Linked DNA regions of Homo sapiens: region 1 is linked to region 2. The links are contacts of gene promoters, found by promoter capture Hi-C in blood cells and fetal thymus (Javierre and others, 2016). All regions are on one chromosome and are shown on one strand. The core of a region is centred on a gene start or on the middle of the fragment in contact, and the rest is flanking DNA. Distances in the headings are between cores, read along the strand shown.

Evidence for each region. The method cuts DNA at HindIII sites, captures the fragments that hold promoters and counts their contacts. A CHiCAGO score of 5 or more calls a contact.
Region 1: a contact is called between a fragment that was not itself captured here and the fragment with the promoter of TMED5 in region 2, in 1 of 17 cell types (activated CD4 T cells). The highest score is 5.3, in activated CD4 T cells.

The regions. Positions count from the first base shown.
Region 1 is chr1:89,995,225-89,998,899 of GRCh38, reverse strand. ZNF326 (zinc finger protein 326) reads right to left here. Exons shown (of 12, transcript NM_182976.4): 1 at 3,627-3,675; 2 at 746-790. The coding sequence starts at 3,642. Among named protein-coding and RNA genes, the nearest start is that of ZNF326, 2.0 kb to the right of the region's middle. RefSeq lists enhancers at 3,075-3,124, 3,006-3,571, 3,572-3,675 and a silencer at 3,345-3,675. The HindIII fragment of the contact is 2,215 bases long and covers 275-2,489 here.
Region 2 is chr1:93,177,935-93,181,730 of GRCh38, reverse strand. TMED5 (transmembrane p24 trafficking protein 5) reads left to right here and starts at 1,318. Exons shown (of 4, transcript NM_016040.5): 1 at 1,318-1,677. The coding sequence starts at 1,489. It overlaps CCDC18 (coiled-coil domain containing 18), which reads right to left and starts at 1,007. Exons shown (of 29, transcript NM_001378204.1): 1 at 879-1,007. RefSeq lists enhancers at 708-917, 1,788-1,937 and a silencer at 978-1,257. The HindIII fragment of the contact is 9,002 bases long and covers 1-3,796 here.

The DNA of each region.
Region 1 (3,675 bases), core at 133-2,632, 3.2 Mb after region 2:
TTTTACTTTGTGAATATATTCTATTCTGTACGAAAGTTGGATTTTACATTTCTCTGGCAATCATGATATTTAATGCCTCAAGTCCTTCATATGTTTTTTAACCTGCATTAATTGTTCTGTGTTCTTTTTTTGTATTATTATCTTGTGTGGCAGGGCCCTAACTCTAATAACTATCAAAATGACATCCAATTGTATTCTACATACCTCTCATGATTCTATCTAGTTCTATAGTCACAAGTCTAATGTCATGCTCATGTCAATAAACAATCAAGCTTCTTCATGTGCTCCTCTAGACAGCTCTTTATATACTAACACATTTGGACACACTGAAGAAAATGACCTCAAAAACAAGGTCAAAATGCATTACAATACAAGCTATATAGAACCAAGCCAATAATCCACTTAGTCTACATTACTCAATACCAAAGCCTCTAATTCAACCAAAATAACTCAGCCAGTGTCTTGTGATTCATCACTCAGAATGTAGTTAGGCCCTTTGGAACACATTAAAATAATCATAATTCAAACAAAATGGACCAAAAAAAAAATCAAACTAATGTGAATAACCCCTAACATTTTCTGATAGCACATTCCCCAATTCAAATACTATATATAGTAAGACAATATTAACACATAAATGATATATCAAGAACCAAAACAAGGACTGAAATAGGTAGAACTGGCCTTTTACATTGATACTATATTTTTATGCGCATGAAGAGAAAAGCTGAAAGAGGATACTTACCATTAAAGCCCTGATAAGTATTCCTGCAGGCGGAGTGTGTGTAATCTATGAAGACACATTTAACAAAAAGGAATTAGTGTGATATTAGCAATAATTCAAAATTATATGCCGATCCAGTAAAAAACAAGCACAATTTTTAAAATGACATTAACCCAATTATCTGCAAAACTGAGAATAGTTAAAACAAATAATTACCAATACTCCATTCCAGAAAATGTATCTCTTTTTTCTTCACTATCTCCCCAAATGGTAGGTTTATTATCCAAATTATGGTAAACATTAGTTTACAACACCTGATACATAATAACAGCCAAAAGAGGGGATTCAGCACTGATTTGTACCAAGTAACACAAAGGCAGATAGATTAAATTATGTATCAAATAATGCAAAAGCAAAGACATCTGAGAATTGTACGTAACATGAAATTTTTGCTAAGTTAATTTCTTTTACCATTTAATTTGCTCTTTAAAGATTTCAAGATCTTGGCCGGGCACGGTGGCTCACGCCTGTAATCCCAGCACTTGGGAAGGTGAGGTGGGCGGGTCACGAGGTCAGGAGTTCGAGACCAGCCCGTCCAATATGGTGAAACCCTTTCTCTACTGGAAATATAAAAATTAGCCGGGCCTGGTGGTGCGTGCCTGTAGTCCCAGCTACTAGGGAGGCTGAGGCAGAAGAATCACTTGAATCCAGGAGGCAGAGGCTGCAGTGAGCCAAGACTGCACCACTGCACTCCAGCCTGGGCGACAGAACGAGACTCTGTCTCAAAAAAAAAAAGATTTCAAGATCTTATCTGAGACATGCATATGCATATACATATATGACTGTGTTCTATATTCAAGCAGAATGTGTCATCACTGAAAACCATATTGCCAATTTCCTCATCAAAACTAATTTAACAACTGTTAAATTCTTTAGTTAATTTTACAAATATATACTGAAAGAACAGAATTTAATATAGTGGTCATCTGGATACAACAGAATCCTGCTACACTATACAGGAATAGATTCATATATGGTGTTAGTCAAACTCCATCTTCCAAATACAGCAGTGGTATATTTGGGCAGTGAGACAGGGCGTATTTCATCACTAATATTGTTTAGAATTTCTATCACTGACACTGTTTAGAATTCTGGCATATGGCAATAACAGAAAGCAGACATACTACATTTTATTATTGTTTTTCAATTCTCCATAGAAATGGATTCCCTTATTGCCTTGGGTGGGGAGTGGAAAGAACTGTTTCTACTGCCCCACCTCCACTTTGTTAGCCTCTGCTATACCTTGGGTGTTGGCATTATCATCAAACTACAGCATGAAAATACAATAATATATTTTTTATTTTCACTCCCAACTCTGGCCACTTCAAATATTCATAGTTTTTTGTTTTGTTGTTGGTTTTTTGTTTTTTTTTTTTCAGACGAAGTTTGGCTCTTGTTGCCCAGGCTAGAGTGCAATGGCACGATCTCGGCTCACTGCAACCTTCGCCTCCCGGGTTCAAGGGATTCTTCTGCCTCCGCCTCCCAAAGTGCTGAGATTACAGGTGTGAGCCATCGTGCCCAGCCCAAATATTCATAGTTTAAAGGTATCTACATCAAAATGAGTTAAAGTCCAACCAAAACAAACAAAACCACGAGAGTGTGCTACTCTTAAGAGCTGAACTTACTATTTCAAAGTAACTGAAAAGTATCTACAAGAGGGCTATTCCAGTCCCCTTTCACAAATCTGTACCTAGATATGAAAGCTTTAATTCTTTGTTGCATGAAATGTTATGAAAAATCAAAAGCTCATCGAGTAAGACATATGCTGAGATCACACCTCATTTAAAGATCATTTTTTTGGTGGGGTTAAAAGTTTACAGCCTACTTAGTGAACTGGTTTTACTTAAGCATGCCTGGTTACTCAGGATTAAATCCAGTTTAATCACATAAGTCCTTTCCCATGTCTCCCTAATGTTGTCACTACATACCACTTTATCTTGACACCAATTCCAAGCAAGGTTTGAAAACAAAAGTGAAGACCAAATTAATATTACTTTGTGACCCTGTAAAAGTGGTTTAAAGAATTAGTATCTGAGACAACTGAAAAGTATTGCTAAAATACAGTTTATTTAATCCGTAAGTCAAACACTTACAAGGCTGTGTACAGGTCTAAATGTGAAGGACATTTGATGCTTGCTGTGCCAAAATTCTGATTAACTTAAATCCTACCTACACACGATCCAAAGAAAAGTGCTTTGGTTCACATAAATATTTCAAGTTAGGGATTAATAAGCAGGTAATTTTTGGTGATAAACACCCCAGTTTACTAACCAGGAAACATCTTGCTTTCCATTTTGCATAGATATTTATCTATACATATCACTTACAGACACCCTTTCAACTCATCTTAAACCGGGACAAACAGAAACATCACTGTGAACAAGCCTCTGAAAATTCTATCTGGCAAGAAGTAACCCGAGGCTGAGGATTAACTAAACGGACGGTCTGGGTCGCTGCCCTGTGGGGCGAATGCGAGACTAGGTGGGTGAGGCCGCACTCGCCCGTTTGCCCGAGACCGGGAAGTTGGAGACGTCGGGGCAATTTCCACTACCAGGGGCCAAGGCGAGTCTGGGGCTCCAGCCCGGAGGCTCTCGCGCTCTAGGCGCGTCCTACCGGACACCGAGTTCTCTTGTCTCCGCCGGCAGCGGGCGCCGAGCGGGCCGAATCGGGGCGCGTGGGTCCCCAAAGAGGCCGACTCCGGGCGCTGGGCCCGGGGCGGGCGGGCGGCCTCCGGGCCCGCAGAACAAAGCCCACACGGCCATCTTGAGACGGTAAACAGACCCCCTGCGTAGGCCACCCCGCCTCCTGCCAGCTGCGCCGACCAGCCAGAGGCAGCGCTTACCGTCCTCGAAGTCCATGGCAGAGGCTGAGGGCCGTCGGCCTTGGCGGCG
Region 2 (3,796 bases), core at 69-2,568:
AGGCAGAGAATTGCTTGAACCTGGGAGGCGGAGGTTGCAGTGAGCCGAGATCGCGCCACTGCACTCCAGCCTGGGCGACAGAGTGAGACTCGGTCTCAAAAAAAAAAGAAAGAACTCCCTAACTCTTCTGCAGTAGCAATGAATATATTTGATACTAAAATGTTTTCATTTTCCTAGTGGGACATTTACTGTCAAATGAATGTCCTTAACTTCAATTTACAGTAGTTACCCAAAAAAGGCTATCTTCACTGACTATGCATACCTAGAAAAGCACATCATCCTACTCACCGACCTTAACAACATCATCTTTCGGCCCTAATTAACAATGTGTTTGTAGGTTTGCACACGCACACCCATCAAACGAAGGACAAGTGTTCTTTTATACCCTATGTATGTGATACAATGGGCTGTAGTCGAAAAAGATTCCTCATTTTGGAAAGAAGTCATAACTTTATGTAGTAGTCTCCTGTCTCAAGATCGCTTGACACAGCTAATCTTACATCCGTCTGAAAGAAGCGGGGGCGGGGGTGGGGGACGGAAGTGACAGTTTCCTCTTTTTTTTTTTTTTTTTAATTTTATAGAGACAGTGGCTCGCCATATTGCCAAGGCTGGCCTCGAACTCCTGGGCTCAAGCAATCCTTCCGCCTCGACATCCCAAAGTGCTGAGGTAACAGGCGTAAGCCACTGCGCCCGGCCTCCTATTTTTCATCAAATAAAATACAACCGTTCAGAGCAGCATGCTCAGCAACCACGAGGACCAGTCCCAGCGCATCCAAGGTGCCGGGAGGGAAAGGAACAGAACTCCCCCAGGTAAGCCGGTTTCCCCACGCCAAGGCGCAGTCGCTCACCACCCAAATCGTCGCTGGGGAGAGACCCACCCGGCGACTGCGCGCTTCGCACTCGAGTCTGCGTTAGGAAGCCTCTGACCCTTTCCCGGGCCCCTGCGCGTGGAAGCCTCGGACACAACTCGGAGAACCAGCGAACCCCGGCAGCACAGAATTCGAACCGCCGCGGGAGCCGTTGGGACGCGCCTACCCGGTCACTGCCCCGCCCCGGCGCAGACTGCGTGAGGCGCCGCCGAAGGCGCGGGGCTTGCCGGGGATCGTGGTCGGCGAGCGCGCCCGAGCCCACTAGCGGAGCCCGCCCGGGACTACATTTCCCACAATTACCGCCATGATGCCCATTGGTGGGGGAAGCCATGGGAACCGGAGGCCGTCAGGGGGAGAGGCGGGCGGCGCTCACGCCTGGCCTGAGGGGGCCGAGACTGAGGCGGTTGCGGAATAGGACTGCTAGCCCCGCCCAGAGTCCCTACCCTTTGGAGAACTGCGCTTCTCTTTCGGAGGGAGTGTTCGCCGCCGCCGCGGCCGCCACCTGGAGTTTCTTCAGACTCCAGATTTCCCTGTCAACCACGAGGAGTCCAGAGAGGAAACGCGGAGCGGAGACAACAGTACCTGACGCCTCTTTCAGCCCGGGATCGCCCCAGCAGGGATGGGCGACAAGATCTGGCTGCCCTTCCCCGTGCTCCTTCTGGCCGCTCTGCCTCCGGTGCTGCTGCCTGGGGCGGCCGGCTTCACACCTTCCCTCGATAGCGACTTCACCTTTACCCTTCCCGCCGGCCAGAAGGAGTGCTTCTACCAGCCCATGCCCCTGAAGGCCTCGCTGGAGATCGAGTACCAAGTAAGTGCGGAGGATAAACCAGCCTCCTTCCTTTAACCCAGCTGCACTGCGTTGTCGCCTCTCACCCGTTTAGAAACTTCTGGTGGACGGCCCTGGTGGTGAAGAGGCGAGGGCCGTTCAGGAAGCCAGCCCGCTCCGCGCAGGCGCGCGAGGCGAGGCGAGGCTCTCGCTGGGGCCGGGGACCCAGAACTTAGGCTGGACCTGGAATTGATGACTACCCGCCTTCTCCCCTTTCCTCCGGTGGGAAGGAGGCCAGAACTGGTGATGTCGCTGGCTTTTCTCTTTGTTTCCTAATTCGCCCACTGCTTTTCTTAGCCACTACACGCTCTCATACTGAGAATTTCACAATGCAGAACTGATACACGTTCTCCTTCATCATTGGACAAGGTGATGACACTTGTTTGAATCACCCCCACCCCTTTCACACAGTTCAGATGTTACAAATCACTGTCTTTGCTTCAGTTAAGGGTTTTTGGATTATGATCGTGTAATTGGCATTAAGCCCGATTTTGAAATTTTTTGGAAGACGCTGTTGCTATATTTAATGATACATTTCCGTTTAAGTTATATATCCATTATTTTCAAAAGATCAAATCGTATATTAAAACTTTATAACCTTTCTTTTCATTTTTTCATTGAGCATTGTAAGCATTTCCCTCGTGTCATTGTTTTTTTTTTTTTTTTTTGAGACGGAGTCTCGCTTTGTTGCTCAAGCTAGAGTTGGAGTGCAGTGGCGCTATCTCGGCTCATTGCAACCTCCGCCTCCCGGGTTCAAGCGATTCTCCTGCCTCAGCCTTCCGAGTAGCTGAGATTACAGACGTGCGCCACCATGCCCAGCTAATTTTTGTATTTTTAGTAGAGACGGGGTTTCACCATGTTGGCCAGGCTGGTCTCGAACTCCCGACCTCAGGCGATCCACCCGCCTCGGCCTCCCAAAGTGCTGGGATTACAGGCGTGAGCCACCATGCCTAGCATGTTTTCTTTTTAGTATCTGCATAATATTCTTGCTGGGAATTACCTTATTTTATGTAGTCATGGTGGTAGGGGGTAATTTCTTAGAAGAAATCTTGTTCGTTCCACAGCAAATTCCGATGTTTTCAGGTAGCAGTACAGGGGGGAAAGAAAAGGCATTGATGTGTTTCATCTTTCAGTTTTTTAGAAGTTAATTATAATCATCAAATGTTAATTTTTTAAGTTGATGTAGAGAATTGTTTTTAAATACCAGGTACTGTCACATACAGAGCAAAATAAAAAGTTGTAGAATTTTTTATACGATGGAACTTTAGGATTAAGTTGTATATAGATACACACGATAAGCACAGAGAATAAAATATCTAAAATCACATAGTGAGCAAAACTGAGGCTAAAACTCAGTGTTTCTTGATTTCCAGTAAAGTTCAAAAGTTCAACATTTACTGAACAGTTAACACGTGCCAGGAATTGTGCATGGAGGTGGGGGAGACGGAGGGGGAGCTGGGTTGTGCGGGATGTAGGTAAAAGAGAAAGAAAGAATCCCTCTTCTCAAAGAGCTTAATAAAGGTTACTGGCTCATAAACAGGTAATTTCAATAAAGGATGGCTAAGTACCAGTAGAGGAGGGTCACTTCTAAGGGTTTCAGAAGAGGATTCCTGGAGAAAATAAAATTTAATCCAGAAAGATGCTTAATTGAGACGAAAATGCCAGGAACAAGGGGCATTTCAGAAAAGCGAACAAAAAGATCCATAGTTCTTAAAATACATAGTGTAAGTGGGGATGGTTAGTGTGTAGTGGACACTACAAGTACTGAGTTTGTATTAGACTTTAAGACATATAAAGTCTAGGGTGGGAGTAGCAGAAAAGGACATCGGAGAGGCCAGAAGGCTGGGGTCATTAAGCATGAATCATAGCCTTGTTTGCCGTGCTGAGTAGGTTTTCCTTAATTTTGTACAAGTCCATTTAAGATTTAAGCAGATCACTGGATGCAGTGTGGAAAATGGATTTAAGGAGAGCAAAATTAGAGTCAAGGAAACTAACTAGAGGGCTAGTGAAATAGTCTAGATAAGAAAACAATTTGTATTAATAAAAAAATCTTCAGTATTTACACACATATTAGGGAAGATATCTATTTTAACTACTGTCC